Linked DNA regions of Homo sapiens: region 2 is linked to region 1. Evidence: promoter capture Hi-C in human tissues and cell types (Jung and others, 2019). All regions are on one chromosome and are shown on one strand. The core of a region is centred on a gene start or on the middle of the fragment in contact, and the rest is flanking DNA. Distances in the headings are between cores, read along the strand shown.

Evidence for each region. Contacts are between HindIII fragments. The study calls those that stand out against the background at their distance.
Region 2: a contact is called between a fragment that was not itself captured here and the fragment with the promoter of NT5M in region 1, in 2 of the 25 tissues and cell types used here (liver and stomach).

What each region holds. Positions count from the first base shown.
Region 1 is chr17:17,301,899-17,306,317 of GRCh38, reverse strand. NT5M (5',3'-nucleotidase, mitochondrial) reads right to left here and starts at 2,945. Exons shown (of 5, transcript NM_020201.4): 1 at 2,501-2,945. The coding sequence starts at 2,767. RefSeq lists silencers at 2,376-2,565, 2,696-2,795, 2,846-3,015. The HindIII fragment of the contact is 23,347 bases long and covers 1-4,419 here.
Region 2 is chr17:17,081,774-17,085,750 of GRCh38, reverse strand. The region is part of intron 3 of MPRIP (myosin phosphatase Rho interacting protein); the gene reads right to left. Among named protein-coding and RNA genes, the nearest start is that of MPRIP, 41 kb to the right of the region's middle. The HindIII fragment of the contact is 3,365 bases long and covers 1-3,039 here.

The sequences.
Region 1 (4,419 bases), core at 1,696-4,195:
AGGTGTCAGGCCCATGGACTCCTACACCTGCTGGAGCTCTCTGGGACCTGAGGCCAATCATCAGGAACTGCGTGCTTGTTAGGCTGGATTCGAGTGGCCAAAAGCATTGTGGAAACTGAGGCTGGACCAGCTCTTACCATGGTAGTAGAGTCCTTAAACTTGAGAACTGGAGGGACTCAGAGATCTTTAAGGTGCCATGAGGGACAAGGGGGAGGGGGAGACAGGGTAAAAGGACAATTCAGGGAGCTCGAGGATCCTCCCCACATTAACCAGAAGAGCTCTGCTTTTATCGGTTTTATATGTTGAGGTGCCAATAAGTACATTTTTAAAAAAAGGATTCTGCTGCTTTTAGAGTTGCAAAGCAAAAATGCAGACCCTCATTTTACATGTCAGAAAACTGAGGCTCAGAACGGGGAAGAGATCCACCTGATGTCACACAGCAAAACAGCAGCTGAGCTGGGAGAAGAACCCCCAACACCAACCCTCTCCTCCCCACTCCCCAACCCCCGCTGCCTTTCTCCTTCCCCTGTTCTGCTGCAGGGCCAGAATGCAGCACCTTTTCTAGGGTCAGGCAAGGGGAAAGTGACAACCAGAGGGGAGACACATCTCAGCCTATGAGCAGGAGCCTAAATCCCACGTGTGCAGTACAGGAAGTGCCTCTACCAGCTGTTCTGCACACTACAGAAAGACAGCCACCCTGTCACATGGACGGCCGGAGGATGCCCTGACAGCATACCAGCAACACTCTCAGGAACCACAGGGACTAGGCAAATGCGTGCTTATTACTGAAACACATTTGATCCTCACATCCCACATAGGGTACTGTGAAGACCAAAGGGAATACAGACAGAGCAGAATTTTGAAAAGTAGAAATGCCTACATACACATAAGGAGCCACGTGTGTGGGGGCGGGGGGGGGGGGGCGGTTGTTTTAACCACAGATACTGGGCCAGCTTGGGGTAGGCCCAGGGATGTCCACAGCAGCAAGCCGTGCCTCAGGAAGGGAAGTAGTGGAAGCCAGCAGATTACTCCCAAGGCACCCTCCTTACTGCCCCGTGCCTTTGCCTTGTGCTTGGAAACCAGTAACCCCACACGTACAGAGCCTACATATTTGCACAAAGAACTGGAAAAGCTGCTGCACTTTTCGGAGTTGGGGGTGGGCTTGGTTTCCACGTTAATACACTCCCGGGCGGATATATGGTGTCCAGACTCCCCATGCCGAGCGCTGCCTATAAATGAACACTCGCCACACACTGGAGCCTATTCCTGAGGCTGCAGAAAGTACCAGGGCATTTTCTCCAGTTTAAAGTTTATCATTAGGCATCCGCTGTAGAAGAGCTCAGCACACTGGGCTCTGTGAAAGTCACCTTCTGAAGTGCCTGGTGTTGATGGAGACAAACGGTACTTGGTTTCCTTTTTTAACACCTGTCCCTCAACAAACCACATTACTGATGAGGCATCTTTCTGATGTCAGAAGAAATGTCACTTGTTAGAGACAGTAGTACAGAGAACAGGACTGTGGAGTGGGGAGCACTAACTGTGCTTGGGAGGCAGACAGACTTGGGTTTGAGTCCTGACTGAGCCCCTGAGCAGCATGTGACTTGGGGCAAGTTTCCTCATCTGGAAAACAGAGATAATAATATCTACCCAACAAAAGAGAGGATGCAGTGAACTTGTGGCTAAAAAACGGGCTCTTGTAACTTCCTTCTCCTCTTTATCAAACCCTCCAGCAGCAACCCTAGGTGGCCAATCAAGGGATGCCAAAAAACACTCAGCCTCTTTAATTTTGTGCATACCAAAATCCCCTGTTCCTTTTGCAAAATACTTCAAATTTACCAACCAAGATCTGTGTGTAAACGTCCCTCCTTGGATCTTTCCCCTCTATCCATCCTGGACAGAACACCTCGGGAGTCGGATGGTAGGGGTTGAGCTCAGGTGTTCAGCAAGGCCAGCTCTGCAAGGGGATAAGACATGAGGTGGATCCCACCTCACCTGGACCACTGACTCACTGTGTGACCCCCAGAAAGTCACACAACCTCTCTGGGCCTCAAATACCCCTGGAAGCTATGCTTTCATGGACAACAGTAAAAAAGATGGGTAAAGACACCCATCAAAGTCCTGGGGACAAAGAAGTGGGAATGTGACTGCGGTCGGGGTGAAAGAGGACAACTTATAACGTTTATTTTTCTAAAAATTTAACAAACGACTTGAGGCCAAATATGCCACAAATTTTGAAGTCAGCTTTAAATGCAGAGTTAGGTATATTAACACTTTGTACTCTCCCGCATTTTCAGAAACCTTGGATGGCAGCCAACAGATCCTGAGCGCGGGGCCGCATCTTCCCGGTGCGCTGTGGCCCCTAGTCCCCCCCAGACCCTATTCTATCAGAGGGCCACCCCGAGGCTGGGGCGCTGACCGTCCAAGGTCACCGGCGCAGGGGCGGTGTCTGGGGCTCGGGGCGAGAAGGAGGCCCGGCGCGGGGCGGGGCGGGGACGCTCACGCTCAGCCCTGGCCGCAGGCGGCCGTACTGCTCCGACACCCAGAAGCCGCGCCGGTCCTCCAGCGCGATGAAGGGCTGGTCGGGAAAGCGCGCGCGGAACTTCCTGAGGAATCCGCCCTCGAAGTCAGCCAGCACGCCGTCCATGTCCACCAGCACCCGTAGGGCGCGGCCTCCCGCCAGGCCCAGCCCGCCCGCCGCCCCGCGCCGCCCCGCGGGAACCGCCGCGCTGCAGAGCCGCCGCGCACACCAGCCGCCCAGCCGGATCATGGCCCAGCGCGCTGGCCCGTCGTGGGCGCGGGGACCTGGGCCGCGCCGTGCTGCCGGAGCCGGCCAGACATTCCCGCCGCGGAGGAGAAGCCCCCAACGCTGGGGCGCGCGTGGAGCGCGGGACGGGGAGCGGGGCGGGGAGCGCGGGGTGCGGGCGCGCAAGTACCGGCCCCAGAGCGAGGCCGCGGCGCGCGCGGTCCCTAAAGGAACACGCGCCGGCGGAGGCGGAGCCCCGGGGCGGGGCTTCGAGGACGGACAGCGGTAAGCGCCGCGCGCCTCCAGAAGGTCCGCGCTCCCGCGCTGTCGATTTGCGTCTTCTCCGTGGACCCTGGGCCCGGGCTGCCTTCTCCCACTGCACAGACTACCATGGAGGAGCAGTGCAAACCGAGAAGCAGGCCTGTGTCGTTAGACATTTTTGAGCACTAACTGTGTCGAGTGTGAACCAAATAGACAAAGTTCCTGCCATCCTGGAACTTACGTTTTAGAAGGGGATCCAGACAACAGGATGGAGGAACAAAAACAGGGTGCACTCTGAAAGCCTCTCTGCTTTATTTACAGCAAATGTCTGCGGAGAGACTGATAGAACCAATATCTGCTAACATCATACAGCCTTAGTAAAACTGATGATTCTCAGGTAAATATATGAATAAATATTAAGTACCCCTGTATTGCTTTTTTTTTTTTTTTTTTTTGGAGACGGGGTCTTGCTCTGTTACCCAGGGTGGAAGCAGTGGCATGATCTCGGTTCCCTGCAGCCTTGAGTTTCTGGGCCCAAGGGATCGTCCTGCTTCTGCCTCCTGAGTAGCTGGGACCACAGGGGCCTGCCACCACACCCTGGTAATTTTTTTTTTTTTTTTTTTTTTTTTGAGACAGGAGTCTTCCTATGTTGGGCTCAAACGATCCTCCCACCTCAGCCTCCCAAAGTGCTGGGATTACAGGCGTGAGCCACCGCGCCCGGCCTCTTTTCAACTTTTAAGTACAGGGATACATGTGCAGATTTGTTATATAAATTGACTGTCTTGGGGGTTTAGTGTACAGATTATTATTACCCAGGTAATAAGCGTAGTTCCTGATAGGTAGTTTTTCCATCCTCACCCTCCTCCCACTCTCCACCCTCAAGTAGGTCACCGTGTCTGTTGTCCCCATCATTACGTCCATGTTTACTTAATGTTTAGTTCCCGCTTTTAAGTGAGAGCATGAGGTATTTAATTTTCTGTTCCTGTGTTTGCTTAGGATAATTGTCTCCAGCTCCATCCATATGGCTGCAAAAGACATGATCTTATTCTTTTTTTATGACTGTGAAGTATTCTATGGTATATATGTACCACATTCTCTCCCTTTTTTTTTTTTTTTTCTTGATAGGGAGTCTTGCTCTTGTTGCCCAGGCTGGAGTGCAGTGGCAGGATCTCGGCTCACTGCAACCTCCACCTCCCAGGTTCAAGCGATTCCCCTGCCTCAGCCTCCCAAGTGGCTGGGATTACAGGCGCCCACCACCACACCCAGCTTTTTTGCATTTTTAGTAGAGACAGGGTTTCACTATGTTAGCCAGGCTGATCTCCAACTCCTGACCTTGTGATCTGCCCGCCTCGGCCTCCCAAAGTGCCGGGGTTACAGGTGTGAGCCACCGCACCCGGCCGATTTTTGTATTTTTA
Region 2 (3,977 bases), core at 108-2,607, 220 kb after region 1:
TTAGTAGAGATGGGGTTTCACCGTGTTAGCTAGATGGTCTCGATCTCCTGACCTCGTGATCTGCTCGCCTCGGCCTCCCAAAGTGCTGGGATTACAGGCGTGAGCCACCACACCCAGCCGTCAGTGTGTATTCTTTTCTGCAGCTGCCAGGGGCAGGGGTTGTTGATGAGGGAGGGGTCAGAAATATTCCAAAACTTCAAATAAAGCAGCACCTGACTGTATACATTTTAAAACTTGTATTAAGACTCCGTGCAGAATTCCACTTAAAGACCGAAGTCTCTCAACCAAAAGTCTGAAAGCACCTAGGGACCCCGCGGGAATGCGATGCATGGGGAGGGCCTGCGGGGGCTACCTCCCCCATTAACAGCCCCTCATACCTTGCTCGTGGGGCTCATGTAAAGATGAAAACACACCCGAGTCCAAAGTTGTTTTTTTAAATGATCTGATTCTGAAAACACACAGCACAGAAATAGAAATGAGCAGCTGAGCAGAGGAGGAAAGAACACAGGGCTTCCTGTGGTCCGAATAGCCCGGGAGGTGCCTACACAGGGAGAGAGGGCCTGGGTGACCCCACAGTTACTGACCCCACTCCAACAAGCCCTCCCTAAGGTACTTGGGCTCCACGCACCACACAACAGGACCTGCCTCCTTTCCCTTGCGACCAGGACCTCAGCACAAAGGCCAGGGCAAGGCTGAAACATGACAGATTTAAAGCTAAACCTGAAAGTATAAGACTGACCCATAAAACATCTTCCCCGGTTCCCTGTCTTGCCCCTTCCTGTCCTTTAAACATGAAGGGCCTCCAGGCCTAAGGAAGCTTCTCTGCCTCTCAGACAGTTACAGGCTCTATGTTCTTATTGTTCTGATTTCTGTAAATCTCTCTGAATATATATTCATATGCCCATGTAGCAAAGAAGGCAGGTGGACCCTACAGCGTTGCAGGCCTGCAGCTAGCTTGGTTCAATGGCATTAATAAAGACACAGGTCAGCTACTATAGTTGGGTCAGTCTGCAGCAACAGACAAACCAGAGGGTCAGGAAGGACACTGAGAGCCCTGCCTGGCCTCCAGCAAGCCCTATTTTCCACCCGCACGAGGCAGCAGGTGCTGGTGGAGCGGCCTCTCTGAATGTGAAGGACAAGATCACTTGGTGAAGGAAAGACACCATCCCTCTCTCAGCAGGAGTCTGCCTTGCCTACACATCAAGGTCTGTCACTCATTAGTTGAGCCACCTCGCAATCTCTCTGGGCCTCAGTCTTTTCAACTGTGAAATGGACATGGTATCTACCATTGTGAGAAGTAGGATAGAGAATGGGCAGAAAGTGCCAGCAAGGAGCCCCGGCCGGGCACATGGCTCCTCCCGAATCTCTGTGATGAGCGAAAAGGCAGCCAAGTGCCACCTGTCTCCTCCCAGAAGACTTCTCTGCCTCCCCAACCACCCACCGCCTTTAAGAGCCTACACATCATGGTTCTGCTAGGGATTTAGTCTGCATATGTTCATGTGGGTCCTGAAAGGTATGAGCTTCACCACAGAAGAGGCCTTCCATGGCCTAGTGTCCTCTCAACCGCTCTGTTACGGACACAGCAGCCACTATGGTTCCCAAAGAATCAGATGCCCGGGAGGTGCCTCAGCACCAAGGAGGAGCAGATGGTTCCTCTCGCCTGCCTGGGAAAGCTCCGAGCTAGAGGAAACAAAGTCAGAGCTTGAAGCAGCAGTTCTCAAATGGAGTGGTTAGAAATCACATGGACTCTGGGAGGCCGAGGCGGGCGGATCACGAGGTCAGGAGATCGAGACCATCCTGGCTAACACGATGAAACCGTTTCTACTAAAAATGCAAAAAATTAGCCGGGCATGGTGGCGCGGGCCTGTAGTTCCAGCTACTCGGGAGGCTGAAGCAGGAGAATCACTTGAACCCGGGAGACGGAGGTTGCAGTGAGCCAAGATCACGCCACTGCACTCCAGCCTGGCGACAGAGTGAGACTCCATCTCAAAAACAAACAAACAAACAAAAACAAAAACAACAACAAAAAAACACACAAAGTGGTTATTTAAACTGGTTTCCCAGCCTCGCCCTGCAGATTCTGATGCAGGGCAACATCTGCAAAAAAATGGCTTAGGGAGCAATGGGAACTGGGCGGTCAGCTGCAGAAAAGGGAGAGAAACCTCAAATGATAGATCCTAAAGACAGCAGGGCTCAGCGGTAATGCCCCTCCTCCTAGGCTCTCACAGGCCTAGGCAACGTTGGGCTGCTCATGGCTTTAATACCACCAAAAATTGCAGAAATTTGTCAAGAGTGAGGTGAGCAGAGGTCCCAAGAACAAGGCAACCTCCTGGACACTCTCCTATAGGAAGCAAACTCAAAATAAACCAGAATCCTAACCTGTCTGCACCTGGAGTGCTCTGAAGATCCTTTGGACCAAGCCTGTTTACTTTATACACAAGTACACAGGCACCCCAAATTAATTTCTCAGGCTGGAACTTCACATCTTACGGGACTGACAAACTCCCAGGTTGCCCCTGAAAAAGGCACATATCCAAGAGCTAGAAGTGTTTTCTCTACTATGTCCGAGGATGTGAGCTGAGATTATGAGTCCTTAGCACAGCCCCTACACAGTCAGGCAGCTCTCATCTCTCGTGATGCTCAAGGACTCTCCAGGCTAGGATGGAGCAGAGCTCCACACCATGGAGGCCGGCCCTCAGCACCATGCCTGCCACAGAAGGTGGCCTCAGTCTCTCCATGGCTTCCATGTGTGAGAGGCTTGGGGTCAGCAGACATGGTCCAAGATCATCAGACCTACCACAATCAGGAGGGAGGAAATTCTGACACCAACCAGGATGATCTTTCAGGACCTTATGCTGAGTGAAATACACCAGTCACAAAGGACAAACACTGCATGATCCCATTTATGTGAGGTGCTGGAGGAGTCAAATTCATAGAGACAGAGAATAGCATGGGGGTTTCCAGGGGCTGGGGAAGGGAGTTATAGTTCAATGGGTGCACAGTTCAGTTAGCAAGTTGAAAAGGGTCCTGGAGAGAGACCGGTGGTGGTGGTTGTGCAACAATGTGAATGTACTTAATGCCACTGAACTGCACACTTAAAAACGATTAAGATGGTGAATTTCCAGTGTACTTACCACAGTTAAAAACATTCGAACAGACCGGGCACGGTGGCTCATGCCTGTAATCCCAGCACTTTGGGAGGCCGAGGCGGGCGGATCACCTGAGGTCTGGAGTTCAAGACCAGCCTGTCCAGCATGAAGAAACCCCATCTCTACTAAAAATACAAAATTAGCTGGGCATGGTGGCCCATGCCTGTAATCCCAGCTACTCCGGAGGCTGAGGCAGGATAATGGTTTGAACCTGGGAGTCGGAGGTTGCTGTGAGCCGAGACTGCGCCATTGCACTCCAGCCTGGGCAACAAGAGCGAAACTCCGTCTCAAAAAAAAAAAAAAAAAAAAAAAAAAATTGGAAAAAGCATTTGATCAGCTTTTTGCCTTGGAGAGCAGGCCCTTGAGAATCCCAAAGCCTCATGGCCTGGCCTGCTCCACCCTAAACTCCTGGCGCTCCCACTCTCCTTCTAGACCTGGAGCTCCTCCCAAGAGCCTTCTAGTGATGTCTGGTGACATCCACACCTCAGCTCGACATCAGTCCCCAAAAACTTGGTGACAGAATTAGGTAAAATCATGGGCAGCACTTTACAGGTGGAGAAACAAAGGCAGAGGACAGAGGCAGCAATCTGGGTTTCTAGATTGTTGCTTTGTCCACTCCTGAAAAACCAGGGGCCCAGCCAAATCTCTCAGGCTTTTACTTGTCTGTGAGGCTGCCCGGACCCCACCTCACCTCAGCCTGCATTTGAGAAATTTCTTTTCCTTTTTCGGGAAATTTGCCTCTCCTCCACACCCACCAGTTACAGGGTACGTGGGTGTATCGAGAAAGAAATTTCCCAAAAAAGGAAAAGAGATTCCCCAAAGTTAGCC